5 separate regions of the Homo sapiens genome follow, and all the other regions are linked to region 3. The links are contacts of gene promoters, found by promoter capture Hi-C in blood cells and fetal thymus (Javierre and others, 2016). All regions are on one chromosome and are shown on one strand. The core of a region is centred on a gene start or on the middle of the fragment in contact, and the rest is flanking DNA. Distances in the headings are between cores, read along the strand shown. Region 1 overlaps AHI1-DT (AHI1 divergent transcript). Region 2 overlaps MTFR2 (mitochondrial fission regulator 2). Region 3 holds the start of PDE7B (phosphodiesterase 7B). Region 4 has its middle 48 kb from the start of MTFR2. Region 5 overlaps AHI1-DT (AHI1 divergent transcript).

What was found. Contacts are between HindIII fragments. The CHiCAGO score rates a contact against its expected background, and 5 or more counts as called.
Region 1: a fragment that was not itself captured here is called in contact with the fragment with the promoter of PDE7B in region 3 in 1 of 17 cell types (endothelial precursors); the score reaches 5.1 in endothelial precursors.
Region 2: a fragment that was not itself captured here is called in contact with the fragment with the promoter of PDE7B in region 3 in 1 of 17 cell types (total B cells); the score reaches 6.1 in total B cells.
Region 4: a fragment that was not itself captured here is called in contact with the fragment with the promoter of PDE7B in region 3 in 3 of 17 cell types (M2 macrophages, M1 macrophages and megakaryocytes); the score reaches 5.6 in M2 macrophages.
Region 5: a contact is called between a fragment that was not itself captured here and the fragment with the promoter of PDE7B in region 3, in 5 of 17 cell types (erythroblasts, total B cells, naive CD4 T cells and 2 more). The highest score is 6.5, in erythroblasts.

The regions. Positions count from the first base shown.
Region 1 is chr6:135,553,117-135,556,130 of GRCh38, reverse strand. The region is part of intron 2 of AHI1-DT (AHI1 divergent transcript); the gene reads right to left. Among named protein-coding and RNA genes, the nearest start is that of AHI1-DT, 57 kb to the right of the region's middle. The HindIII fragment of the contact is 2,163 bases long and covers 594-2,756 here.
Region 2 is chr6:136,240,544-136,243,473 of GRCh38, reverse strand. It overlaps MTFR2 (mitochondrial fission regulator 2), which reads left to right. Exons shown (of 8, transcript NM_001099286.3): 4 at 501-613; 5 at 1,798-2,030. Among named protein-coding and RNA genes, the nearest start is that of MTFR2, 8.3 kb to the left of the region's middle. The HindIII fragment of the contact is 1,691 bases long and covers 677-2,367 here.
Region 3 is chr6:135,850,322-135,853,250 of GRCh38, reverse strand. It overlaps PDE7B (phosphodiesterase 7B), which reads right to left and starts at 1,550. Exons shown (of 13, transcript NM_018945.4): 1 at 1,232-1,550. The coding sequence starts at 1,252. RefSeq lists a silencer at 1,526-1,763. The HindIII fragment of the contact is 11,590 bases long and covers 35-2,929 here.
Region 4 is chr6:136,200,495-136,203,530 of GRCh38, reverse strand. No RefSeq gene overlaps it. Among named protein-coding and RNA genes, the nearest start is that of MTFR2, 48 kb to the left of the region's middle. The HindIII fragment of the contact is 443 bases long and covers 1,512-1,954 here.
Region 5 is chr6:135,502,732-135,505,847 of GRCh38, reverse strand. All of the region lies in intron 2 of AHI1-DT (AHI1 divergent transcript), which reads right to left. Among named protein-coding and RNA genes, the nearest start is that of AHI1-DT, 6.5 kb to the right of the region's middle. The HindIII fragment of the contact is 1,635 bases long and covers 656-2,290 here.

The DNA.
Region 1 (3,014 bases), core at 426-2,925, 300 kb after region 3:
GGACAGCAGATGAACCAAAGTTCCATGGGGTAGCAATTTAGGGAGAAGGGGAAAGAGTTGCAAAAGCATGGCAATATGAACTCCCTTTTATCACCTACTCCTTCCCCATCTCCTACCTGAGCTAAGGAGGAGCTCAGAGAGTGAGGAAAGTTCCCTATAGCCTGTGAATGAGTTTCAAAGCTCTCTGGTCACCTTTCTCTTTTGTGAATGAGTTGTCACTCACAGAAAAAAAAAAGAAAAAAAAACAATAAGAAATGTTTGTGTCCAAAACATGCTGCAGGGGGAGTTTCAACAAGTTCCCGTCTCTTTCCTTTTTGCTAGTGAGAAGCTTGGTAGAGACCAGTTTGATATTTCCAGGCCTGCTGATGCCCTACCTTCCGTTCACACAGCCGTTGAATCACCAGGCCTCAGACAAAATGAGGAAGTGTTCTTTCTCCATGTCGTCTCAGCAGTAGTCACTGAATTTTTCTGCCACTTCAATCTGTATATTTTGTGGTTTTATGATGTTTAATATCATGGTTTTATCTAAAATCCTGTTGTTGATTGTTTCTAGAATTTTTCCAGGAGCTAATTTAAATTTGTTGTCAAAAGCTTCCCATCACATGAAGTCAATACTGATCAATAATCACAGTTGGAAGGGACTTCACAAATAGCTAGCAGAAGACTCGTCATGTTACAGATAACAAATCTAAAGTCCGAAGAAGTCAGACAGCTGGCTTAGTTTCTGTAAGTTATAGTATCTAACTTAATAGGGTCACAGGATCTGAGAGTTAAAATTATCCTTACGTTAATCAATTTGATCAAATAAATATTTTAAGTTTCTGTAGAGCAAAGAAAAAAGAAACTCAAAGACAAATTCAAGAGGTAAAAACATTTCAAGAAATAATTTGCAACACAACAAAGGTTTATCTCCTATAATAAAGAGTTCTTTAAGTCAATAAGAAAAAGACCAACAGCCCAGTAAAAAATAATGGGCAAAACATTTAATTTAGCAACTTGCCATCATACTGGGAATTCCCTTTCCTGCTCCTCTGTGGTGAAACTCCTGTTCCCTGGATCCTCTTTCTTCCTTATTTCCAAGGAGTACATTCTCCAACAGGTTCCTGAGAAAGTTTTTAGACCAATTAGAAGAGAGGTAACTGTTTTAAGATCTTAGGGGTCTAAAAATATCTTTTTTATGCCATATATTTGATTGAGGGTTTTGCCGGGCACAGATTTCCATGCTTGAAAGAAATAATACACATAAATTGAAATATTATTTTTATGTCATTCTTAACCAAATTACTTATTAATGGGATCTGTTTAATGTTGGGCACTGCACAATTTCTCAAGCCTTGGACTTAGAATGAATACTGCCACCCTCGTTTCCTGTTCCCAGATAATTTTCACAGGGTATTTACTTGCTTTTAATTTCATCAACTCAGATTTGCAAAGATAACATCATTGAAAGGAACATAGCTCAATCTAAAGACAGAACTATAAAATGAACTACTTCCATTTAGTATCTCAAAAAGTATCTAAAAGATATCAATGTCACTATATTTTTGTTTGTTTGTTTGTTTGTTTTATTATACTTTAAGTTTTAGGGTACATGTGCACATTGCACAGGTTAGTTACATATGTATACATGTGCCATGCTGGTGCGCTGCACCCACTAACTGGTCATCTAGCATTCACTATATTTTTCTCAATAATTTTAAAATTCCAGGGGTTAGGGTTAGGGTTAAGGTTAGGGTTTGGGGTCAGGGTCAGGATCAGAATTAGAGAAAATAAAGAAAAAACTTTTTTCAATTCCCATGGCACCCACCCTATGAATTTGCTCTTGTGCCCTAGGGCTGACCTCTGTGCAAGGTTTGAGAACATCAGCTCTGACCTTTAGGGAAAAAGCAAAGTTAGATCACTTTATTACGTATGTATAGTATGAGCACATGTATGTGTATATATATACTAAGTACACATATATGTATGAATGTGTGTGTATACACACACATGCAAATATCTGCCATTTATCTGTGTATGTGTGTATACACACTATATATACAAACATGTGTCACATAAATTTACATACTTTAAAAATTACAGTCTTATATACATCAAAATGATGGTGATTATCTCTAAGTGGTAAAAATTATGGGTGATTCTTGCTTTCTTCTTTATGCTTTTTATGTTTACACTTCCCATGAGGTTCAATTTTATAACCAATGAAAGCAGTGAAGCTCCATTTTGAGCAAAAGCTCCATTTTGCTTAAAAATTAAGCACACAGACCCAAGTTCCAACTAGCTTCTTTTAATAAGGAAAGCAAGTTTGGAACTTATTCAAAAAAACAATTTTTCTGCTGAAAATGCATTTGAACCATTGTAAATAATCATATTAGAGACAGATTAGGGTAAAATAGCACTATTCTATAGTTCAACTAAGAGCTGAGAAAAAGACTTTCTCTCATTCAAAGATCAGATATTTTTTAAAGCATGAGATCAAAGTAAAAACACTCTTAAAAAAGAAAAGAAATACAACCTCTTCCAAAAATAGATACAAGCCCACAACACATACCTCAAATGTATTGTCATGAAGCTGATGAAAACTTTAAACTGTCCTCCTGGATAGGAGAACTTAATGAAAGAACCACCTCTGTAAATGCTAGAACTTAGGTGGAAATGGAAGGGGAAAATAAGACCATCACAAAAATGAATGTCACATTTAGATATCACGGAAAGGAGGACAGATAGAACAAATTCAAGGACCTGAAGAACAAGCTTGAGAATACTGTGCCAAACCAAAAGAGTTTAAAAGGACTAGAGAGGAAAGTAAAGCTATGGAAGGAAGACAGACAAAAGAAATGAAGTATACATTTATTTAGGGTCCATGAAACAGAAAACAATAAGACCCAGAAAGGTACTCAAAAATATAACTTAAAAATCATTTTTAAATAAATATTTGAATCTACAAATTCAAATGTCACATGATGTTTCAGCAAAAATGCATGAAAGCGATCAAACTGGTAATGTATCTTTTC
Region 2 (2,930 bases), core at 273-2,772, 390 kb before region 3:
TGGCCTCCCAAAGTGCTGGGATTACAGGAATGCACCACCATGCCCAGCCAACTTTTCTTTTTAAGTAGAAGGAATACACTCTAAAATAATAATAAAAAGTATAATATAGTAAATACTAGGTGATAGGAATATTTCAGTTTCATCATAATCTTATGTGACCCCATGTATATGCAGTCCATGATCGACCTAAATGTTACGTGGTACATGTCTGTAATGACATTCACAGATGGGCAAGTGTGAACAATAACTGAAGAGCTTAATTTTATTTTGCATTTTGTGATAGATGAAATTAACCAGGGGAGAGAATATTGCTTAGTGCTTAGACTTCAGCATAACATTTTCCCCAGTGTTCTTTCGTGCTAACAGGTACATGTTTTTCTATTGAATATTCTTTTTATTTTTCTTTCTTTTGGATTGTTAACTAATTTAATACCATGGGGCATGTGTCTTCTCCTGACTCCCTGCAGAGCTCTGACTATTTTTTTCTTTTTTTACTTTAGTTGATCCCGCTCTTGAACTCTGTAGACTCTGATAATTGTGGATCTATGGTTCCATCTTTTGCTGATATTTTGTATGTGGCAAATGATGAAGAAGCCAGTTATCTCAGATTTCGGTAATTTTATATGCTTATCTTGGGAAGTGGGCTATAAACTGAATTCTTGCATGTGTCGAAGCTTGTTAAGATTGATTGAGCTTTTTTGTTTTGTTTATCTTCAAACTGTGCTGTGCCCTACTGTATCTTCTTAATAAAGAAGACTGGCTGCTTTTCATTTTTTTAGCCAGTTGTTTTTTTTTTAGTGCACATTTAAACCTAACACCAGGCCTAGGAGGGAGTGGTTATTAAAGGGATATTAGAATCATGTTTTTAGCCAAAACTTATATACTGTTTACTGTGCACCAGGCAATGATGTTAAATGTATTTCAAAATTTGGATGTGTTACTCCTAGGGAGTATTACTTTATATGTTAGTATATTCAGATACAGGCTCTAAGCACATTAAGTGTCAATTATTTAAGTATTCCGGCTGATTTTATTATGTATCAAACTGGCACCAATTTTCAAATAGTTAAAATAACATACATTTCACCCTAACATAATCCTGAATGTAAGGCTCTTTATTAACTTATATAGAACTTCTAAATAAATTAACTTACCTGCGTTTAAAGTTAATAAGTAGAACAATTGCAGGTAATTATTTTGGTTTTATAATCTAAAAGCAAAGTTTGTTTTGTTCATTCCCTGGTCACTGACTGGTCCTCCATTGGAGGCTATGTTCTGTTTATATTGGGAATACAAAGCTAAATAAGATATTTTCCTTGTCCTCAGTGGTGACTCTAGAAACAATCATGGGGGATAGAGAGTAGGTTTTTTTTTTTTTTTTTTTTTTTTTTTTTGAGACAGAGTCTTACTCTGTCGACCAGGCTGGAGTGCAATGGCACGATCTTGGCTCACCACAACCTCTGCCTCCCAGGCTCAAGTGATTCTCCTGCCTCAGCCTCCTGAGTAGCTGGGACTACAGGGGCACGTCATCACACCGGCGAATTTTTAAAAATATTTTTAGTAGAGACAGGGTTTCGCCATTTTGACCAGGCTGGTCTCGAACTCCTGGCCTCAGGTGATTCACTGCCTCAGCCCCCAAAGTGTTGGGATTACAGGTGTGAGCCACTGTGCCCGGCCTGAGAGTAGCTTTTATTTTGTTTTATTGTCTTTTGATTTTCACGTAGGAGTGTAAGAGTTTATACCTCTTTTGATTGGAAATATATCTTCCCTCCATTTCCTATTTTTTTTCACCCACAGAAATAGTATATGGAAAAATGAAGAAGAGAAAGTGGAAATTTTTCATCCTTTGCGACTAGTTCGGGATCCACTGTCACCTGCTGTAAGACAGAAAGAAACTGTGAAAAATGACCTGCCTGTAAATGAAGCTGCAATTAGAAAAATAGCTGCCCTTGAAAATGAGCTGACTTTTCTTCGCTCTCAGATTGCAGCAATTGTGGAAATGCAGGAACTGAAAAATAGTACAAATTCTAGTAAGTAACAGTAGGATTTTTGTTTCAGTTAGATGATACTCATGGTATAGCCTATACCAACCTGTACAGCATGATACTGTACTGAATATAGTACGTATAGTAGCATACAGGAACATCTAGTATTTAAGTGAGTACAATTCTGAATAAGTACCATGAAAACATTAAATGTACATAAAAGGATGTTGAATATACAAAATTATTATATCTGATGTTTATTCAGGATAAATTAAGACACATTTGTAGTGAGGGGATGGCTTTGATTTAAAGAAGAACTAGCTTTACTATACTAGAAGATTGTATTTTTGTATTAAAAAGTCTGTTGTCTTCTAAGTAAGCTTTTTTTTTTTTTTTTTGAGACGCAGTCTTGCTCTGTCGCCCAGGCTGGAGTGCAGTGGCACGATCTTGGCTCACTGCAAGCTCCACCTCCCGGGTTCACGCCATTCTCCTGCCTCAGCCTCTCGAGTAGCTGGGACTACAGGCGCCCGCCACCACGCTCGGCTAATTTTTTGTATTTTTAGTAGAGACGGGGTTTCACCGTGTTAGCCAGGATGGTCTCGATCTCCTGACCTCGTGATCTGCCCGCCTTGGCCTCCCAAAGTGCTGGGATTACAGGCGTGAGCCACCGCGCCCGGCCCTCAGTAAGCTTTTCTAACTCTTCATGAAAGCATTGGATATTAAAGAGGAAGAATGCATTGGTTTGAAAGAGGATATAGGTTTGAGGCATCATATGTTTATAGTTTTTAGTTATTGCTGCTACACTTCCACCAAGTTGAGGTGAGTCATGTTTTCCAGATGATTGTTTTATAAATTTATAGAGATACAACTTGCTTTAAACTTATGCACACACATACACACAACATGTATGTATGCGTGTATAAAATGTAAAGCAATCTAGGTACT
Region 3 (2,929 bases), core at 301-2,800:
AATATTACTGCTAACATGACCCAGTTTTAAAGCTTTCAGGTTCTCAATGTTGAGAATAGAAACTTTAAGAAAATCGGTTAGAAATTTTGGAACAGGGTAAGGATTTCAAATAATCCTGTCTTATTTGCTATTGCATAACTTTGAGAAGGGTAATAGGGAAATCCATGGTAACCATATATTACTTAAATTGCTGTTACAAAAACCGACTCTTTGGATAGGAATGATTTTTAGCAGGGATCCTCCTTAAGACATAATAATGTGCCACTGAAAACAACATTAGCCCTGTATTGAATTGCCAATCTTCCTGCAGCATTTAGTGTGTTTACTGTATATGAATGCCTATGCCTGTCTCTGGTGCAAAGAGGTTTACTCTTATTGCAATAGTCACTCTGGCTAGAGCACATGAAGAACAGAATTTTTAAATGATTAATTAGTCCCCAGGCTCAATCACTTAAGCCCCTAATTGAATATCTGACTCCATTTTCAACTATTGTAGGAAAAGATAATTAGCAAATTTGCAGTGGTAATAAAGAAGTTTTACTTTCCTTTATAAATAATAATATCTAAATTTCTGGTCATGTAACTTAGTACTTGCATCTCTCCTGGACTTCTGAATCCAAAACATTTTTTGAAAAATGCAACAAGGTGATGAAGGATTTTTCTTCAGAGCTCATTTTTTGGACATCTTCTATTGATTTTTTTCTACCTTCAGTCTCACTATCAGCTTCTTCCCTTCTTGCCACTAATTTCTTCATCTTGAAGTCTGCTATCAACCAACATGAAAAACTCAAGAAAAAAACTAATTTCCTTCTTCCCTGTTCCACAAACCTTACCAATCCCTTTACCAGCATTTTCCTATCCTGTCCCACCAAAAATGAAAATTACCCAACTCCAAGATTTATGTTGGAGAAAAAAAATATTGCATTCTTTATTTTTTTTTTTAAAGACCACCTCAGTGTGGGCTCAAAGTGCAGTGAAAATGCCGGAGTCTCATTACACTGGTTGGAATGAAACCCTGCTGCCCTTAAACGGTTAATTCAGGGTAAGTGATAATGTTTAGTCAGTTCGCCTAGAAAAAGGAAGGAAATTCAAAAGCTGGTTGCTGTAGTAACAATCACAGACAAAAAACATATATATGTACAGGTTCATTTTAAATAAAAATCCTGCCATCTCTCTGTGACTCTATTCTCTCAAGAAAACTGAGCTTGCCGCTTAAATTTGTTGTACATACCTCAACCATTAAACAAGACATTTAACCATAGTGGCAGTTCTGTGACCTTTGAATGCCGTGAAATCTCTGAGCGGTGCTGCTTGTTCATGAAGACTTGTGCTGCAGAATCCAGCAACTTCATCCAGGATTAGGAATATAATTAAGTAACAAAAAAAAAAAAAGAAAAAAAAGGAAAAGAAATAAAGAAACACAAAAGCACACAAGGAGATCGAGAAAGAAGGAAGGTAGAAAGAGAGACTCTCCCTGGGTGAGTAACACCACTTTTCTCCCAGACAAGTGCTGGGACAGAGCCGAGCCTGCTGCAGTGCCCAGACCAACTGACTGGCTGGGTGAGCAGCCGCCGGCCTGCTAGGCTGGGAGGTGCTGTCAGTTGCCACAGGCAAGGAAAAGCAGAGACCAATCGGCTTCAACTCTGGCAGCTTACTGGAGTGGAGCCTTTTCTGTTTATGTTTCCTCATTTCAAGAGTGACGTCAAAGGGTTTAGTTTTTCCTCTGCATGTGCTATTAATTTTAAAGTACTGTACTATGGGAAGAATGTGTGTGTGCCTGTGGTCAGCCTGGGCACCCCACTCTCAGGAGAGCCCAAGAAACATTTTCTATATTCGGGAATACATTTAAAGAATTTAAAATACCTTGTGGTGAGGTGTATAAAAACAAAAGCAAAACAAAACAAAAATTAAATATAAAACCCTGAGCTAAATCATAGCAGCAAGATGTAGATTTTTTCCATCTGTGAGTGTATGTGCTCCATGCTCACTTGGCAGCTGTTGCTTATTTTTTTTTACCTAATTCATTTTTACTCTTACCTAAAAATGAGTTGTTAATTAAACTTGATAGCCATAGAGGCAGAATCGTACAAATGCACTGGTGAACAAAATGATGTGCAATGAAACATAGAACTCCTGTGTCAGTTTGTGCCATGGGTCCCTGCGTTTCCTCCAGCTTCCGTGGTGAAGCCTCAGGCTTGTTCCTGCCAGGGAGATGCCTCCTGATGCCAGCAGGAGTCATTCAAGAAGCAAGGCTATGGTGATGCCATGCAGGTGTGCCTGGGGCCTCAGCTTGTTCTTTCCCAAAGAGTATGAAGGTCCAGTTATTTAGGGATACTTCCTTTACCAGGGACCCCAGCTTATCCCTGGGTTACACTTCCCACTCTGGAAAAATCCCCATAGTTGCCATCTGTTGTTTCTGCCTCCCCCACATCCTCCTCCTTTTCCCCATCCCCATCCTAAATTCTGCTAACAGACCTTTTTTGGGTGGGCGGTGGGCGGAACTTTCCTTCCTCTATCTTCTATGGATTGCATGGACTTTGCCCCCAGCCCCATTCCCACGACAGAGCCACAAGGGGGCATGGGACCCACAGGGGCCAATCAGATTTCTCCATTGCTCCGAGGCAGACTATGTTTTAGGGGTGGGCGCAACACTAAAGAATGTCCACATTCCTTTTTCAAATACTAATATTGTTTCTTTGAGAAAGAAAGTATTTATGTATCCCTAAGAGCCTAGGCGCTAGGATTAAGCATCCCTGTAGTTGTTGGGGTTTATCTTTGGTGTTGAAGCTACAATAGTGAACAAAACAGATGGTTCTTTGCCCCCATGGAGTCTACATTTTGGAGAAGCAGGGAAATTGTCAAAGAAAAATAAGTAAACGTATAATGTCAGTTGGCAATGAGGGCTTCAAAATAAGGTAAGGAGAATGAG
Region 4 (3,036 bases), core at 484-2,983, 350 kb before region 3:
TTAAAAAGTTGTTTTTTTTCCTGAGCCAGATCTGAATTAGTAAGGAAAAGATATGGAAGAGAGAAACAAAGATGTGTTTTGTTCCTCCTTCCATGAAACTTCTCCACACTTCCTCACTCTACCTCCAAATATGTAAAAACAACCACATCTCAAACCTGAAACGCTCTATCTCAATGCTGTCAATCAGGTGAAATCTGCAAGATATGATACACACACACAAAAACACACACACACACATGTAAACACACACAAATGCATGTAACACTGCTGAAGTCTGAATTGTTACCGGATTTTTATCAATGTTGATTTCCTGGTTGTAATATAGTTATTGTAATATAGTTATACAAGACGTTACCATGGGGAAAATTGGGTAAAGTGGATGAAGAGTTCACAGGATCTCTCTATTTCTTTCTTTCTTTCTTTCTTTTTTTTTTTTTTTTGAGATAGGGTCTCACTCTCTTGCCCCAGGCAGGAGTGCAGTGGTGTGAAACAGCTCCCTGCAGCCTCAACCTTTGGGCTCAAGTGATCCTCCCATCTCAGCCTCCCAAGTAGCTGGGACTACAGGTGTGTGCCACTACACCCAGCTAATTAAAAAAAAATTTAATAGAGATGAGGTCTTGCTATGTTGCCCAGGCTGGTCTCAAACTCCTAGCCTCAAGTGATCCTCCTGCCTCGGCCTCCTAAAGTATTGGGATTACAGGCATCAGCAGCTGTGCTCAGCTTCTCTATTTCTTTTATTTTCATTTTGACTACTTACCCCCAAGTTCCAACTCTGTATTATTTCTTACGAGAACATTTAAATCTACAATTATCTCCAAATAAAAAGTTAAAGAGTCTGACAGATGCGTATGGACTGTGTGTGTGTGTGTGTGTGTGTGTGTGTGTGTGTGTGTGTATGTGTGTATGTGTACCGGGGATGGGTAGGAGGTAAAGGTGAGTGAGTGAGGAGTGTCTGTAGGAGGTAAAGCATTGGGTGAGTGAGTGAGGAGTGAGGAGTGTCTAGGTGTCCTCAGCTGAATACTGCCCCCTATAGTTGCTGTCCATCCAGAACCTCAGAATATGACCTTACTTGGCAATAGTCTTTGCAGATGTAATTAGTTAAGATGAAGCCATATGGGATTAGGGTGGGCCCTAGTCCCTGGCTCGTGTCCATGTAAGAAGGGAAAACAGACCCATGGGGACGAAGGCCTGTGATGATGGAGGCAAAGGTTGGAGTTATGCTGCCACCACTCAAGGACCGGCATGGATTTCTGGTGAGCTCTGGGAGCTAGAAGAAGGAAGGAAGGACTCTTCCCTGGTAGCTTCAGAGAGCTCAGAGACCTGCTGATACCTTGATTTCAGACTTCTAGCCTCCAGAACTGTGAGAGAATACATTTTTGTATTTGAAGCCACTCTGGTAATCTGTTAGGGCAGCCCTAGAAAACTCATACTCAGTGAGTAATTTGATTCATCTTGGTTATTCTTCCTTAAATGCTTATTTTCCCTCACAGGATACGGAATCAATATAAGCTTTCTCCTCTTGTCAGTTCTCCTCCATGCCTCCTATCTTCGTTGACAGTCTCATTTGAGTTAGAGTAAGAGTTGAGTAATCTCTTGCTGCAAATGGAACATAGATGGCACCAGCGTTGTTTCTGGCCAATGCCTGCTGTTCACACGTGTCAATACAGTGCAAGGAACATATGACATCAGCTCTAATGCTCACTATAAATTGTAAACTAGGCAGTAATGCCGTTGTTTCTGAAATAAAATTAAGCCTCAGTGAACACTTCTTACAAGTCACCTGATTTATATGGACAAAGTTTGCCAATATCATTGACATCTGGTCAGAGCCTTTACCAATAATATGTACAAAAATGTTTAAGTGTTCCTAGAACACTTAGCTCTGACTATACCAAGAAGAAACAGTGATGTCTAGTTAATTGCTTCTGGTTTGCTTGCTAGCCCAAATGAAGCTTTATTGACATGTCACATACCTTTTAGATATTCAAGTCAGGTTACCCACCTCCCTCCACAATCTTAGGCCTTTCTCAATGACACTTGTACATACCCCAACTCTCAGCAGAATGAGGTCCTGGCACGCAGCCCTTGCACTGTGGCCTGCCCACCCTGTTGAAGTCTCTTCTCATCTTATCCTCCTCAGAGGCTGGCACTGGTACCTGGGGACTTCACAGTCTGTGCAGTGATCAGACAATCACTGTGGGGATAGGGCCTGTGCTTGGCTGCCTGACATTTCTGCAGGTTGGTGGTGGGGCTGAACATTCACTAAATCATACTTGAGAACTGGAAACCTACTACTAAAAAAACACGGAGGCTGGGCATGGTGGCTCGGGTCTGTAATCCCAGCACTTTAGGAGACTGAGGAGGGTGGATCACTTGAGGTCAAGAGTTTGAGACCAGCCTGGCTAACATGGTAAAACCTCGTCTCTACTAAAAATACAAAAATTAGCTGGGCATGGTGGCATGTGCCTGTAATCCTAATCCCAGCTACTCAGGAGGCTGAGGCATGGGAATCACTTGAACCCGGGAGGAGGAGGTTGCAGTGAGCCGAGATTGCACCACTGCACTCCAGCCTGGGCAACAGAACGAGACTCGGTCTCAAACAACAAAAAAGCCCACACTGATAAGAGAAAAAAAATCTCAAGCTTCCCGTTAGAGTTTAAGATAAAGCTCCAGATGCCAAAAGGTATTTTTTGATAAGCTATTTCTAAAATAACACATTTTTAATAACTAAAGTCAGTAGAGGCATCTCAGAAATATTTCAGAACGTTACATAACTCAAGTATTGAAAGATCAGAACTTTTTGTTGTCTCCATCTCAGTAAGGTTAATACTTGAAAACTGATAATTACAGAGTATAATTCTCACTTATGCTGTTCTATAACACTATAGGTCTTTTGTTTTCATGTAGAAGTTTTTTTTTTTCAAATGTGGACTGAGACAGATGTTTCTGAGAAAATGAATTCATTGAAATGTAAAGTCTGACTCTCCTGTTAAAAAAAAAAAAAGGCTCAAAGTAAATTATAGCAGTGGGAAGAAG
Region 5 (3,116 bases), core at 224-2,723, 350 kb after region 3:
TAGAATGCAATGGCCTCCCAAAGCATAGGATTCAAGGCCTTGCTCAGTGTGAGAACTAAGATGTTTGCATAAAAGTGGAACCCTTAAAAGATTACAGCAGCAAAGATAAACAAGGAAGTTTGTTTGTAGGGGCTAAAGTTCAGGTAGAGAAAAAAAAAATCTTCCCTCAAAATTATAACCATATCCTCTGTTTCATAGGATTTGGGTTCGAACCTATAGTAATCTGATAGGTTGGATATGGGGTATAAGAAAAGGAGAAAGGTCAAAGGTTATGATAAAAGAAAAACTTTAACTGAATTAAATTTAAAGGAATTTAATTGAGCAGTGAATGATTTGCAAATCAGACAGCCTTCCCAGACAGAGTAGGCTCGGAGACTCCAGCGCAGCCATGTGCTGGAAGATTTATGGACAGAAAAAGGAGTGAGGCACAGAAAATGGAAGTGAGGTACAGAACCAGCTGGATTGGTTACAGCTTTGTGTTTGCCTTATTTAAACATGGTTTGAATAGTTGACGACATTTGATTGGCCAAAACTTGGTGATTGGCCCAAGTGTAGGCTACATCTGGTTACACTTCTACTTGTTATAGTTTAAGATGTACAAAGAAACATTTAGGCTGAATTTAAAATATGTAAGGAGGTAGTTTTAGGCTAAGCTTGATTTAACAGTTACTCCAATGTATTTGGTGTTTGGCTTGAGTAACTGGAAGAATGGAGTTGTCATTGCTTGAGATGGAGAAAGTGGGGATTTGAGGAGGCAGATGAGGAATTCAGTGTTAGAAAAGTTAAGTTTGAGAATATGTCGGACATCTAAGTGGAGACATGTAATATACAGTTAGATTTATGAGTCTGAAGTTCAAGGAAGAATAATGGGCAGAAGGGATATATTTGGGAGTAGTCTACATGACAGTGGGACTATAGAACTGTAAGAAATCACTGAGTGAGTACGTGTAGATAGAGAAGTCCAGGAACATACCTCTGGGACATTCCAATATCAAGAGGTCAAGGTGATAGGCATGAACTAGTAAAGGAGCCCTAGAAAGAGGAAAAGCAGGAAAATGTGCAATCACCGGTTAGAAAATGTAATAAGAATTGGATGCATTCAAAATAGCACCAAAAATCTATAAAATGCTGAGGAATAAATAATAATATGAGAGACTTATAAGAAAAGTATCTTATTTTTTAAAAGCCACCATATCACCTTTTGACACTTTCACTATAATTGCTTAAAAACACTTTGGATTAGAAGTGATATAGCATAAAGCCATTAAAATGAATGGGGTAGATATATGTTACTGACATAAAAAGCCTTTTAGAAATAATAATACTTGATAAAGGACAAAAACAAGATGACAGGACAAAATCTATGGTAAGAAGTTATCTTTATAATTTAGTATATTTAGTATATGTATGAATGGAAGTATGAAAGAATGTATAGAAGACTGATCAGTGATTAAAAACACGGCTGACTTTCGGTTACCACATTATAAATATCTGAACGATTGTTTGAAATTTTTCCACGTGCACATAAGAACATTACTAACAAAGTTAGAATTTCCAGTGATGATTAAGTGGTGATATATACAGCATCTCCTTCTTATCTGCATGGGATATGTTCCAAGATCCCCAGTGGATGTCTGAAACTACAGGTAGTAGCAAAGCCTGTATTTACTATACTTGCATGCCTTTCTCAAAGTCAAATAAAACATAGAGTCAAATTTCCACATTTCAAACATTTTATTTGGGAAATGAGAATTGCATTTCCAGGCAAACACACAGAATGGGTGGTCTTCAGTATGTCTGAAAAACAAAGATCAGGTTGGAGGTTTTATAAAAAGGAAAAATGTTACCCATTGTTTTGCAAAGAAACAATGGGTAACATTTGGGGAGCTGGCGAGCTCTGATTGGCGAGTGATGGCAGTGGGTAAAACTAATCTTAGTGTCACAGCAGGTTATTTCATTAGCTATCAGATAAAACTGATTTCAGATTACAACAGGCAGTTTCAGTAGCTGGGCTTGTGGAAAATTTAATTCTTGGAGCAGATGCTATATGCCCCAAATGCTTTTTCCCCTGGGCCCTTCACTCTGATTTAGTTGGGTACAACAAGAATGACCCAATTTCTATAATCAACTTTCACACCTCTCATAAAGTTTAATTTATAAATTAGGCCCAGTAAGAGATTAACAGCAATAACTAATAACAATATAAAGTTTTTATAACAATATACTGTATTAATAGTTATTATGTAAATGTAATCTCTTATTTTCTCTCTAAAAATTTTCAAACCAAGCTTGTTGAGTGAAACCTCAGAAAGCAAAACCATGGTTAAGGGGGCACTATTGTAATAGCATGGAAATGAAATTGCAACATAATGTTCATTCAAGTAAGCAGAAATAAACATTTTACACACAACATGACCAAAATTAAAATACGCATGGAAAACAGACTGAAACGAAATTTGTCAAAAAAGTTAATTTAGATTCTCTTGGGTAGTGGTATTGAGTATTTTTTCCTTTTTTTCATGATTCTACATATTTCAAATTATCTATAATACATATATTCTTACTTTTATTTTTCCTGCTTATTATAAAAATTTCCAAACACACAAAGGAAAAAGTATAATGAAATACTAGGTACCTACCAGCCAGCTTCAACAACCATCAAAATTTAGATATACATGTGTCATTTCCTCTCACCTTTTAAAAAAATCTAGAATATTTTAAAGCAAATCCTGGACACCTTATCATTCTGTTCTGTGCACGTAAGTCATACTCTACATAACCACACCAACATTATTTTACCTAATGAAATTAATAAACATTTCTTAACATCTTCTAAATATTTAGCCCATAACAAAAAATCTGATTGCCTAAAACATGTTTTTCTATAGTTGGTTTATTTAAATTAGAATCCAAACAAGGCCCATTCATTCCATCTGTTATGGCTCCAGAACCCTCTCCAATAGTGTCATGGACTCAGTTATGCCCCAGTTCCAAATGCATATGTTGAAGTTCTAACCTTAAAGTACCTCAGAATGTGCCTGTATTTGAAGACAGAGTCTCTAAAGAGGTAATTAAGTTAAAAGGAGGTCATTAGGGTGAGCCCTAATCCAATATGA